4 separate regions of the Homo sapiens genome follow, and regions 1, 3 and 4 are each linked to region 2. The links are contacts of gene promoters, found by promoter capture Hi-C in human tissues and cell types (Jung and others, 2019). All regions are on one chromosome and are shown on one strand. The core of a region is centred on a gene start or on the middle of the fragment in contact, and the rest is flanking DNA. Distances in the headings are between cores, read along the strand shown. Region 1 overlaps LAMA3 (laminin subunit alpha 3). Region 2 holds the start of LAMA3 (laminin subunit alpha 3). Region 3 overlaps LAMA3 (laminin subunit alpha 3). Region 4 overlaps ANKRD29 (ankyrin repeat domain 29).

What was found. The method cuts DNA at HindIII sites, captures the fragments that hold promoters and counts their contacts. A contact is called where the count stands out against the background at its distance.
Region 1: a fragment that was not itself captured here is called in contact with the fragment with the promoter of LAMA3 in region 2 in 1 of the 25 tissues and cell types used here (IMR-90 fibroblasts).
Region 3: a fragment that was not itself captured here is called in contact with the fragment with the promoter of LAMA3 in region 2 in 2 of the 25 tissues and cell types used here (IMR-90 fibroblasts and mesendoderm cells).
Region 4: a contact is called between a fragment that was not itself captured here and the fragment with the promoter of LAMA3 in region 2, in 2 of the 25 tissues and cell types used here (IMR-90 fibroblasts and aorta).

The regions. Positions count from the first base shown.
Region 1 is chr18:23,723,449-23,726,336 of GRCh38, forward strand. All of the region lies in intron 2 of LAMA3 (laminin subunit alpha 3), which reads left to right. Among named protein-coding and RNA genes, the nearest start is that of LAMA3, 35 kb to the left of the region's middle. RefSeq lists an enhancer at 2,509-2,888. The HindIII fragment of the contact is 5,076 bases long and covers 1-2,888 here.
Region 2 is chr18:23,688,048-23,690,903 of GRCh38, forward strand. LAMA3 (laminin subunit alpha 3) reads left to right here and starts at 1,406. Exons shown (of 75, transcript NM_198129.4): 1 at 1,406-1,930. The coding sequence starts at 1,637. RefSeq lists an enhancer at 765-1,314. The HindIII fragment of the contact is 10,376 bases long and covers 1-2,856 here.
Region 3 is chr18:23,742,158-23,744,857 of GRCh38, forward strand. All of the region lies in intron 2 of LAMA3 (laminin subunit alpha 3), which reads left to right. Among named protein-coding and RNA genes, the nearest start is that of LAMA3, 54 kb to the left of the region's middle. The HindIII fragment of the contact is 7,323 bases long and covers 1-2,700 here.
Region 4 is chr18:23,643,444-23,646,335 of GRCh38, forward strand. ANKRD29 (ankyrin repeat domain 29) reads right to left here. Exons shown (of 10, transcript NM_173505.4): 3 at 2,746-2,844. Among named protein-coding and RNA genes, the nearest start is that of ANKRD29, 18 kb to the right of the region's middle. The HindIII fragment of the contact is 7,883 bases long and covers 1-2,892 here.

The sequences.
Region 1 (2,888 bases), core at 26-2,525, 35 kb after region 2:
AAAACTATATGTAAACTAGCTAGACTGTATGGAATGATCACATTTAGTAGGAAAAAAAAAATGTGCCTATATAAGCAAAGAACAAAGTCTGGAAAGAGATACTTGAACATGCTAAGAGTGCTTCTCGGTGGATGGGGAGATCAGTGATTTTTACTTTCTTCTGTAAATCTCACAGTGTATGTCAGCTTGCTGGCTCTGGGTTTTTACCTAGGTAAACATCTCACTCCACAGCTTCCTGGCTGTGTGTAATTGGATGGTCTAACGAATGTCTCGGGGTCAGTATCTTCATCTGAAATCCAGGGATAAATCTAGTACCAACCTAGGAGGGTTCTTGTGAGAAATTAATCAGATAATACAGAAAAAGCTCTCAGAATAGTGCCTTACATGCTGTAAGAACTAAATCCATGTTACCTATACTATCTGTATTTTTTTTAAAATTTTTATTTCTATAGGTTTTTGGGGAACAGGTGGTGTTTGGTTACATTAGTAAGTTCTTTAGGGGTGATCTGTCAGATTTTGGTGCACCCGTCACCCAAGCAGTATACACTGCACCCAATTTGTAGACTTTTATCCTTCATCCCCCTCCCACCCTTTAACCCAAGTCCCCAAAGTCCATTGAGTAATTCTTATGCCTTTGCATCCTCATAGCTTAGCTCTCACATATGAACGAGAACATACGATATTTGGTTTTCCATTCCTAAGTTACTTCACTTAGAATAATAGTCTCCAATCCCATCCAGGTTGCTACGAATGCTATTAATTCATTCCTTTTTATGGCTGAGTAATAGTCAATGGTATGTACGTATACATCTTTATTTTCTACAATGAGCATGTATTACTTTTAGAATTAGAAAATCAATAAAGCCATTTTCTCTTTGGAGAAAATAAAAGGGTTCTATAGAAAGAGGATAAAAGGAACAATGATTTCTGGTAGAATCTGAGTTATCAATGAAAAAGCTTCCTTGGAGTTTTCCTGATGTCCTCTGTCTCCCCAGTATGAACTATTTCCTGATGCCCTCCATGCCCTATCTCACCCCCTGCCACCCCGTCCCCCTGATATGAGCTTCTGACTGTTTTGTCTCAGAATGAGGCTGGTTTGCTAGAGATCTTTCAATGCCAACAGAATCAGAAAAATACTCAGTAAATGGAAATTGATTTTTTAAAAAAGAGCATATTTCATTCCTTAGCTAATCTTGAAAACTATTTTATATGCTTCTTCCCTTGTGGAACTTTTGCAATTTCAAGCACACTTGGGCTTTAAATCATGGCCATTTTCCTATTACTATTAATGGCAAGCATATATAAGGAAAAACTGAATTTCATGAATTCTTCATGACAGTTCACGGAAGCTTGAGTTAAATGTGGCGTCTCAGGGGAGTCACTGTGCCTGGCACCTCTTCTCTGCCTGCTGTCCTCAGGGCACCTGCCCAGCCCCCACAGAGCCCTTGCTCCTTCTCATATCTGTGACCCTGCAGCCTTCCTGCACCACCAAATGGTCTTCCTTCACTCTTTCCTTCCTGATGCTTCTTTTTTCTCTATTCCTGTTTCTGTGATTCCCCTCTCTCTCTTTTTCACTTTTTACTCCCATCGCATTTCCTTACTTTAGGAAAAAACAAGAACCAAACCAAACCACCTTTTCTAAGTATAACAGTATAACTCACCATTCTTTTTTTTTTTTTGAGACAGAGTCTTGCTTTGTCACCCAGGCTAGAGTGCAGTGGCACGATCTCGGTTCACTGCAGCCTCCGCCTCCCAGGTTCCAGTGATTCTCCTGCCAAAGCCTCCTGAGTAGCTAGGATTATAGGTATGGGCCACCACGCCCAGCTAATCTTTTGTATTTTTAGTAGAGACGGGGTTCCACCGTGTTGGTCAGGCTGGTCTTGAACTCCTGACCTCAGGCAATCCACCTGCCTCGGCTTCCCAAAGTGTTGGGATTACAGGCATGAGCCACCGCGCCCGGCCTAACCCACCATTCTTTTCTGGTGGTCACTGCCAGCCTTGAGGAGGGTGCCATGCTGTGTCCTTGGCAGAGTGGTGGCCTGCTGAGTCACTGGGGGTGTGTGTGCAGAGAGGGGAGTGGAGGTGGGTGGGGAGTGAGCTAAGGAGGTCTGGGGCTCCCCATAAGGGGGGCTCCAGCAAGACCAAGCTCTTTGCCTGTCTAGTACAGTTGTACTGGGTCCCCAGGCGGCCTCAGGGCACAGACAATGTGACCATCCTGCCTCCCCAGGACTTGCGCAGCTCACTCTAGACCAGAGGGGCCAGGTTTTGTCTCCTCCACCTGGCAGCTTCTGCTGCTCTTCCTCACAAGGTTCCCTTTGGTCTTGTAGCCTCCAGATAAGGGTGCTTTATGTGCCTGTGTCTCTCTCATTTGAGAGCAAACTTCTGAGCTGTTGCACTTCTCTCTTTAATTCTTAAACCACAAATGCAAACATTCTATGGCTTAGGAATTCCAGATTCAGCGCACCATGCATGACATACTCTGTTCCATAGGTTTTAAGCACTTTGAGTGATAAAATTGTATGTTTACCTTTATCACTCCTCAGCATCACAGAGTAACCAGCATAACCAGCATGGAACATTCAGTTCTTTCCCCTCCCTTCACAGTCATCCTTGCTGGGCAGACTCTCACCATCCCTTGAGCCACCTCCTACACCAAGTATCCTGGGAGCTCCCAAAGAGATGGGGAGGGTGAGTGGGGCAAGGAAGCCCAGAGCCGGGAAATGCAGCACCCCTCCCCTCTTTGGAATCAGTTTAAATTGCCATCCAGGTGGGCCCAGGCAGCTGAAATCCAGGTGGTGTCTCCAGCACAGGGTCCCAGGTGGGCAGAGCAGCTGGCACAGCTCTCATGAGGGCAAGAGCGCCCAGCCAGAGCCTGGCCCAGGTGAGAT
Region 2 (2,856 bases), core at 156-2,655:
CGGCCCAATTTATATTTTTCTTTTGTTGCTTGCGCTTTTGATATCATAGCTAAGACAGCATTGCTAATCCAAAGTCATGAAGATTTTCTCCTGTGTTTTTCCCTTAGAATTTTATAGTTTTAGCTTTATAGTTTAGCTCTCTAAATGTAAAATTTAGAGATCTTAAATCCATTTTGAGTTAATTTTTGCATATAGTATGAGGTGGGGATCCTACTAGATTATTTTGGGATGTCCAGTTTTCCCAGCAGCGTTTATTAAAAATATTATTCTTTTCCCATTGAATAGTCTTGGCACCCTGTTGAAAATCCAGTGACCATAAATGTAACGGTTTATTTCTGAGCTCTCAATTCTATTCCATTGATCTATGTTTATCGTTATGTCGGTACTACACTGTCTTGATTACTGTAGTTTTGTATTAAGTTTTAAAACTAGGAAGCGTGAGTCCACTGACTTCATTCTTTCTCAGAATCGTTTTGGATTTTCTAGGTCTCTTGCATTTCCACATGAATTTTAGGATCAGCTTGTCAATTTCTGAAAAAAAAAAAAGTCGGGATTTTGATCCCTATCAAAATCCATTGTGTTGAATTGTAGGTTGCTTTAGGAAATATTGCCATCTTCACAATATTGTCTCCTAATCCATGAACATGGGAGGCTTTTCCACTCATTTAGGTCTTTTAACATTTCTTTCAAAGAGGTTTTGCAATTTTTATTGTACAAATATTGCATTCCTCTAATTTCTTCGAGGGCCTATGTGGGTTCTGTTTTAGTAGGGTGTTCTGCATATAAGACCAAGCATCAGTCCGGGGTCGTGGGGGGAGGGGGTCTTCTCTGTTCTGAGGCCATCATGGCAGGTGGCGTACCTCACTCAATCTCTGTTAGCTTATTTGTAAAATTGAGCAGATTAGGCATCTAAAGGATTTCCTCTAAGGTTCCTTTCCAGGTTGGCAAATTACAACTTGCATTATTGGCTGTCTTTTAAATATGTACGTTCCACCACTCCCAGTTCCCTGGCTCAGCCTGTGGCTGCAGTGCCACAGGGATCCTAGGTGCACAGTGTTGAGGAGTTGACGACTCAACACTTGGCTGGGAAATCGAAATGTCTTTGATGTGAGTTCTGTAGGTAGTGGCAGTTTCCTCTGCTCTCAACCAAATTCGTTTACAAGCCTCCTTTACTCTTAGGTCACAGGTGGCTTTTCTGGCTTTGACCTGAGCGGTGAGTATCCAGAGAGGAGAACGATCTAATTAATTTCTGTCCTGGCGCCTGGAGGGTTCGAAGATCCCAGGCTCCCGTTCCCGCCGCCTGGGTGGGAGCCCGGGAACGCCTCTCCCATTCCCCGCCCGCGAAGTTTGCAGCGCGCCTCGCGCGGGAGAGACGCCGTCTGCTGGCGCGCGGCTGAGCGCTGTCAGTTCCTGATCCGGCTGGTGCCCGCTCCAGCCGCGGCAGGTTCCAGAGCTGAGAGGCCACCCCCACGCCGCGGGCTTCCAGCGCGTGGAGCAAGGGGAGCGGCCCCGGCGCCGCCCATATCCCCGGCTGCGCTAGTCCTGGCGCTGCAGGTCCGGGAGGCGCAGGCGGAGAGCGGCGGTGCCCCCGAGCCCCTCTGCGGACGGCTCAGGCGGGAGGACCCCGCGCGGCTGGATGGCGGCGGCCGCGCGGCCTCGGGGTCGGGCACTGGGGCCAGTACTGCCGCCGACGCCGCTGCTCCTGCTGGTACTGCGGGTGCTGCCAGCCTGCGGGGCGACCGCTCGGGATCCCGGGGCCGCGGCCGGGCTCAGCCTTCACCCGACTTACTTCAACCTGGCCGAGGCGGCGAGGATTTGGGCCACCGCCACCTGCGGGGAGAGGGGACCCGGCGAGGGGAGGCCCCAGCCCGAGCTCTACTGCAAGTTGGTCGGGGGCCCCACCGCCCCAGGCAGCGGCCACACCATCCAGGTGAGGGCCTCGGAGAGAGCCGGGGTGGGCGCGCCTTTTCCTTCCCGCGCCGGCCAGACACCCGGAGAAGGGATCGGGCCCTTTCCTCACGCGCGCTAGTGGCTCCGGGCGACTGGGAAGGGCAGCCCCCATCCCCGCGCGCGAGGGCCCACGACCCAGGAGCGATCTCGTGGAAGCACCGCACCGGCACCACCGGCCCGAGGCGAGGAGGGGGAGCACGCGAGGTGACATGAGGCTGTGGTCAGGTTCGGGCTGGTGGAGGGGAAAGTGTGAGGCTGCGCTCTAAGAGATGCAGGCGCCTCGGCCCTTCCCGCCTCCGTCACCCACGGAGCGTCCCGCCAGGCTTGAGTCCTCGAGGGTTCAGGGGCGCCTCCTGCCCCACCTCCCGGGCCTTATTCGGAGAAGTCGGTGGCAATTACCTTCTGTGGTGTATTTTAAGAGAGAATTTTTAGGTTATAACAGCGGTATCACTCTAATGTTACTGAAAAGATTCACTTCACTGCACTGCCTGAAGTGCCACCATCCAGTCATTGGGGGCGAATGAGACCTTAGGCGGACAGAGATAGAAAGGCTCTCAGAGATCCGAGCCTCACCGCGAACACCCGGGGCAAACGACATTGCGGTGCATGTTAAGCAGCATCTTGCAGTGCCTGGCCCTTACTCACAGGTCTCAGCCAGGCAAGAGTGCAGTGGTGCGATCACGGCTCACGGCAGCCTCGAACTCCTGGGCTCAAGGGATCCTCCCGCCTCAGCCTTGGGCGTAGCTGGGACTACAGGCGTGCCCCCCCGTGCCTGGCAATTTTTTTTTTTTTTTTTTGAGACAGAGTCTCGCACTGTCGCCGGGGCTGAAATGCAATGGTGCGATCTCGGCTCACTGCAACCTCAGGCCTGGCAATTATTTATTTATTTATTTATTTATTTATTTA
Region 3 (2,700 bases), core at 103-2,602, 54 kb after region 2:
TTATGATAAAATAAGCAGACAAATTCAGACTGTGGGACGTTCTGTGATTCTGTGACCAATTCTATGATGGAACATTAAGACTTAGAACAGACTGTGGGACATTTTGGACTGTTCAAAATGTCAGTGTCAGGAAGGACAAAACATGTTGGGGGACTGCTGTGGATTAAAGGGGACAAAAGAGACCTGACGACTCACTGCCGTATGTAATCCTTGATTAAATCCCGAGATGGGAAAATAATACAATGGGGATTATTGAGAGGATCAGGGAAATTTGAATATGGACAATGTATTAAATACAATTTTGAATATATGGTAAAATTTCTTAGACATGAAAATGTTGAATTTATATAGAAGAAATATCCATAAAATTTCTTAGACATGAAAATGTTGAATTTATATAGAAGAAATATCCATGTTCTTGGAAGATAACATGCTGAAGTATTTAGGAGGAAAGTATTATGATGTCTGTAACTTCCTTTCAAAGAATCAAAAATGTGTGTGTGTGTGTGTGTGTGTGTGTGTAGAGAACAAAAAATATGGTATATTGTTAATAGTTGGTGAATCTAGGTGAAAAGCATGTGAGTATTCATTGTATTGTTCTTTGAGCTGTCCTGTAGGTTTACAAATTATGCAAAATAAAAAGTTGGGAGAAGTAAATTATGAAATGCTACCTTGTGGAATAGTATGTTTATTAAATTATAAAGCTATTGACAGACTGATCTCACTTTTATTATAAACTTAGAGTTTTCTGGCACAGGGAGTACTATTTAGTTGAGTAGGAAGCTTATTTTGTATGTGACTTTAAGTGTACTTGCACAGTATTTTGCACTTTCACAATCCCGTCTGTTAGTTTAATTTCAATTCAACAACATGTATTAAGCCTCTTTTCTGAGGATATAGGAGTGATTAAGACCAAAGATGGTGCAGCCTAGTGGGAATGACAGATGAAAACAGGTACCGCAGTGCATGACAGGTGCTCTTTTAGAAGGAGAATATCAAATTTGTATGAAGTAGATATTATTCTTCATTTTCTTAAATATCTTTTTTGATCATTTTATGAGCAAATAAATGAAATCTCAGAGTAGGTAAGTCATGTACTTGGAGTCACATAGCCAGTGGGTGACAGGGCAGAGATATCCCCCCCAGGGGAGTTGATTCTACTACAACTTAGCTTAGACACCAGGGTAGGACCACTTCGGGGTTCAGCTCTGTCTCTGTGTTTGCCAAATGGTACCTGCCCCTTGAACTCAGTAGCAGCTACACAGCTTTACTATCCATCCATCCATCCATCCACTCATTTATTCATTCATAGCATGTATTGAACACCTATTACATGCAGTCAGTCCAGGAAGGCCCTGAAATGAATAGAGGACAGGCTGTACCAATCTATAATTTCAGAGGCTTCAGAGCATGCAGCACTGGGGTGAGAAACAAGGATCAGAGGACACCCTCTTGTCTTCCCTACTCACCCTGAAGTCTTTTGAAGTTGAAGTGCCTCACACTCCCCCTTTTATGATCATTATCTGCTTTATTAAAACATTATTTAAAAGACTACTTTGTTTCTCTACCTAAACAATCACCAACACACTTCAAGCTATCTTTAGCTTATTACAAAAGCACGTGGAGAGATTACAACTCAGTCCCTCTCCATCATTTCTCCCCTTATCTCTGACCCCCAAATACGATCTCTTTGAAAATGCACAACTTTGCCTTTCTACCTACAGTGGCTCCATAGCTTGGTGCTTTCTAGTCTCACAGAGGGTCCTCGTTTATATCAGCAAATCTCTAGCAGCACTCATGTGTGCTTTGAAGTATTTTCAGTGGCCAAAGAGTAAACATAAGTACTGAGAGTAAAAAAGGAATGTAGCAGAAGGAGTGATTCAACAAGCATATAATTTAAAATTACCAACCAAAACAGAATAAATCCCTACCTGTTGGCTTAACATGCCTGAACCTGGCTGTGAACATAATTATGAGACCACTCACTCTGCCTCACTATGACATTTTGAATCTGCAAGTGTCAGAGGAGATTTGCTGCAGAGCTGGAGACCTTGGCAAGATTCCAGGGCATGTTACACAGCAGGGGTGGTGATAAATAACACATATAGTCGCTTGGTGCAAATGGGATCCAAACCAAAGAGATACACCCTACCAATATTCAGAGCACATAAACATACATTGGGGAACCTCAGAAATAATTCCTGAGACAAAAATGGGAGGGAAACATTGAAAAGTGGCATGTTCTAGCTAATTAGTGCTGGAAGATGAGTTGGTGCCATCAGTGGACTTATTAAGTTAGGCCTGGGTGGCAGGATACTGTAACAGGCAGAGGGGCACATCAATTGCTGCTAGAGTTGGGATTTTTAAGTGTCATAATGCTTCAAAAGAATCTGGCCGGGCACGGTGGCTCATACCTGTAATCCCAGCACTTTGGGAGGCTGAGGCAAGTGGATCACGAGGTCAGGAGATCGAGACCATCCTGGCTAACACGGTGAAACCCCGTCTCTACTAAAAATACAAAAAAATTAGCCGGGCGTGGTGGCAGGTGCCTGTGGTCCCAGCTACTCAGGAGGCTGAGGCAGGAGAATGGCGTGAACCTGGGAGGCGGAGCTTGCAGTGAGCCAAGATCGCACCACTGCACTCCAGCCTGGGCGACAGAGCAAGACTCTGTCTCAAAAAAAAAAAAAAAAAAAAAAAAAA
Region 4 (2,892 bases), core at 225-2,724, 45 kb before region 2:
TCTTTTCTAGAAGTTGTTTCTTTAGTAAGATAAATAATTTGCTTTTCAATAGGCTTTCTTGGTACATTAATTACATAAATCATTATTAGAGCAGTTTGAGCTGATTTTAGAACATACATACTACTATTAATCATTCTGTACCTCAATGCAGCAATCCATAAATAGGAGCTATACCTTAGTCTGGAATGTGAATAAAAGTTTTAAATATGTGTGCCTTACTTCAGGGCTTCATGCCAACTGTATGTGCAGCTCCTATGCCTGAGAGGTGTCATCAGCCAATTGTGGGTTCTTTACAGCAATAGTGTTTCAGGAACATTAGTTTCCAGTTTGTCTCTCTAGCAAGCTCTGTGTATCTAGAGAGCTGACCTAAGCAAGGAGTGGCAGGTAGTTTTTCAGGAGACAAATATTCTGATATTGCAAAGTGGATTAACTAACAATGGATCAAGGCAGAAGTCTGCCATAGGAGTAAGTTTCAAAGCACTGCAAGGCACTCTTAGCTTCCAAAACTGGTACAGGAGGCTGAGGTCTGCCTTTGGCTTGGCAGCCCTCTTGCCCCAGACTGACACAGTCTCAGGAAATTCAGGGACTGCCAGGAACTTACATAGCACCATCATTTGAGCCACGCAGGTTACCTTTAAGCTGAGTACACTTTGGTAAATCTTCAAAGGCTTTTGTTCTCAGTGCTACGAGAGTTTTCATCTCCAAGATTAGTTGAGCAATTGGAACCAAATGGATAAATATAAAACCATAGAAACCATAGACTGGCTAGAAATCAAATACTTCTCTCCTCTTCTAGCTGCTTTTCTCAGTTGTTTCAGAGAGATTTTTGTGCATGTGCAATTTGTCCTTCAGGATAAAGTTTTTAAAGTAAACCAGATCTGGACCATATTGTTTTTATTAGAGAAAAACTGTCTTTAAAGTTGTAATAAACAAAGACCATAAAGCAGAGAGGAAAAATAAAAAGATTAAAGTAATTTTAAACTGTAATTCTAAGTGGGTCCAGATATTTTCATCCCACAGGAAAATTAAGTGCTGAAGTGAAAATGACCTCAAACAACGATCTAGTGTTATGGAAATTGCACCAAAGAATCTGTTTGTGAGAAGACTGCATTTGCTGTAGTCTCTTTATACTGCTCCTCTCAAGAGACCAGGCCTGTTGATCCAGGGCTACAGAGACCCAGTCCCAGATTCTGCATGTCACTCTTTCATGGTCCACAGCCAAGGCCTCCAACACCCAGACGGGTGGTGGGAAGGACATCTGGATGTGTCTTGGAACTCTATTTTTGAGTCAGGGTCTCTCTGCATTGCCTAGGCTGGTAGTACAATCATGGCTCACTGCAGCCTGTAACTTCTGGGCTTAAACGAGCCTCTAGCCTGAGCCTCTCAAGTAACTGGTACTATAGGTGTAGACCACCATGTCTGGCTAAATTTTTAAATTTTTTTGTAGAGATGGGGTCTTGCTATGTTGCCCAGGCCTATGTTACACCTGGAACTCTTGACACAGTCCTGAGACCTGATGTGTCTTAATTTGCTCCACTCAGAGGTGACGGTCCAGGCTGGAAGAATGAGATATACGATATACTGGCTTGATGAAAGTTTGGTTGGTGAATTGTCTTTCTAAAATGTTGCAAGGCATGACCTGGGATAAAATAAGGCTGGACCAAGGAAAACCAAGTGGTTCAGTCTGGACTTGCCCAGGAAGCCCATCTCAGGTCTGAGTCAGTGTGAACTGAGAGGTCAGATACACTCTAGGGGTGACCTGAGCGTGTGTCTCCATAAAGATTAGTTTACCAGGTCCTGGGTCAGCTTGGAAATATATGGATGGAGCTTTCTCAGAATTGAGCCCCAAAGTATGTTAAAATGTCCCAGCCTAGGCAATCCCGGCACTTTGGGAGGCTGATGTGGGCAGATCACGAGGTCAGGAGATCGAGACCATCTTGGCCACCATGGTGAAACCCCATGTCTACTAAAAATACAGAAAATTAGCTGGGCGTGGTGGCACACACCTGCAGTCCCAGCTACTCGGGAGGCTGAGGCATGAGAATCACTTGAACCTGGGAGGTGGAGGTTGCATGAGCCGAGGTTGCGCCATTGCACTCCAGCCTGGGCCACAGGGCGAGACTCCATCTTAAAAAAAAGTCCCAGACTCCCTTCTGCTTCTCTAGATTAGACCAAGAATGGATCCTCAAGCAAGACCAAACTCCCAAGATTGTCCTTGAATGAAGTGTGGGAACAGGCTCACATTTTTGTCCAGTGTTGACCCATACGGCTTTTTCCAGGAGAGCTTATTTAATTCATGGCCAGTTAGAGAGCAGTCCTTTGAAAACATGGTTTGGGGAGGATGATTGAGACATCCTAGCAAGTGAGCCTCATTACAAATAGGCTGGTGACTCAACTCTTCTAAAAATATAATGATCTATATGAAAATGCTATAAATCCTACAGTATCTCATCCCAAGGGAGTAATAAAGAACTGATTTAAGCTTGATAAAAAAAAAAGTGTGAGTGTTTATAGGCAGGTGGTAAGAGGTTTGGTTACCTCAGATATGCCCGACAGGCTACGCTCAAATGCATTATAACTGCTAGTACGTTGCTGGACCTCATTGTAGGCACAATAAACTCTGCAATGGGCTTTAATGTGGGAGAAAAGCAATGATGGCTCTTGTCCCCCATACCAGTTCACTATCATGAAAACTTCAGATCTCTGAGCCTGGTCATTTTTCTTCAAGTGCAAAGCCTGACCTACCTCTCTCTGGAGATTGATGTCTGCTCCTTGCAGAACCAGTTCCCTCACACAGTCTATGTGGCCAGCGTAGGCAGCAACCATCAGGAGTGTGGTGCCATGCTGGATGGAGGAGAGACAGATGAAGAGTTAGGCCACTGCTATGTCAGA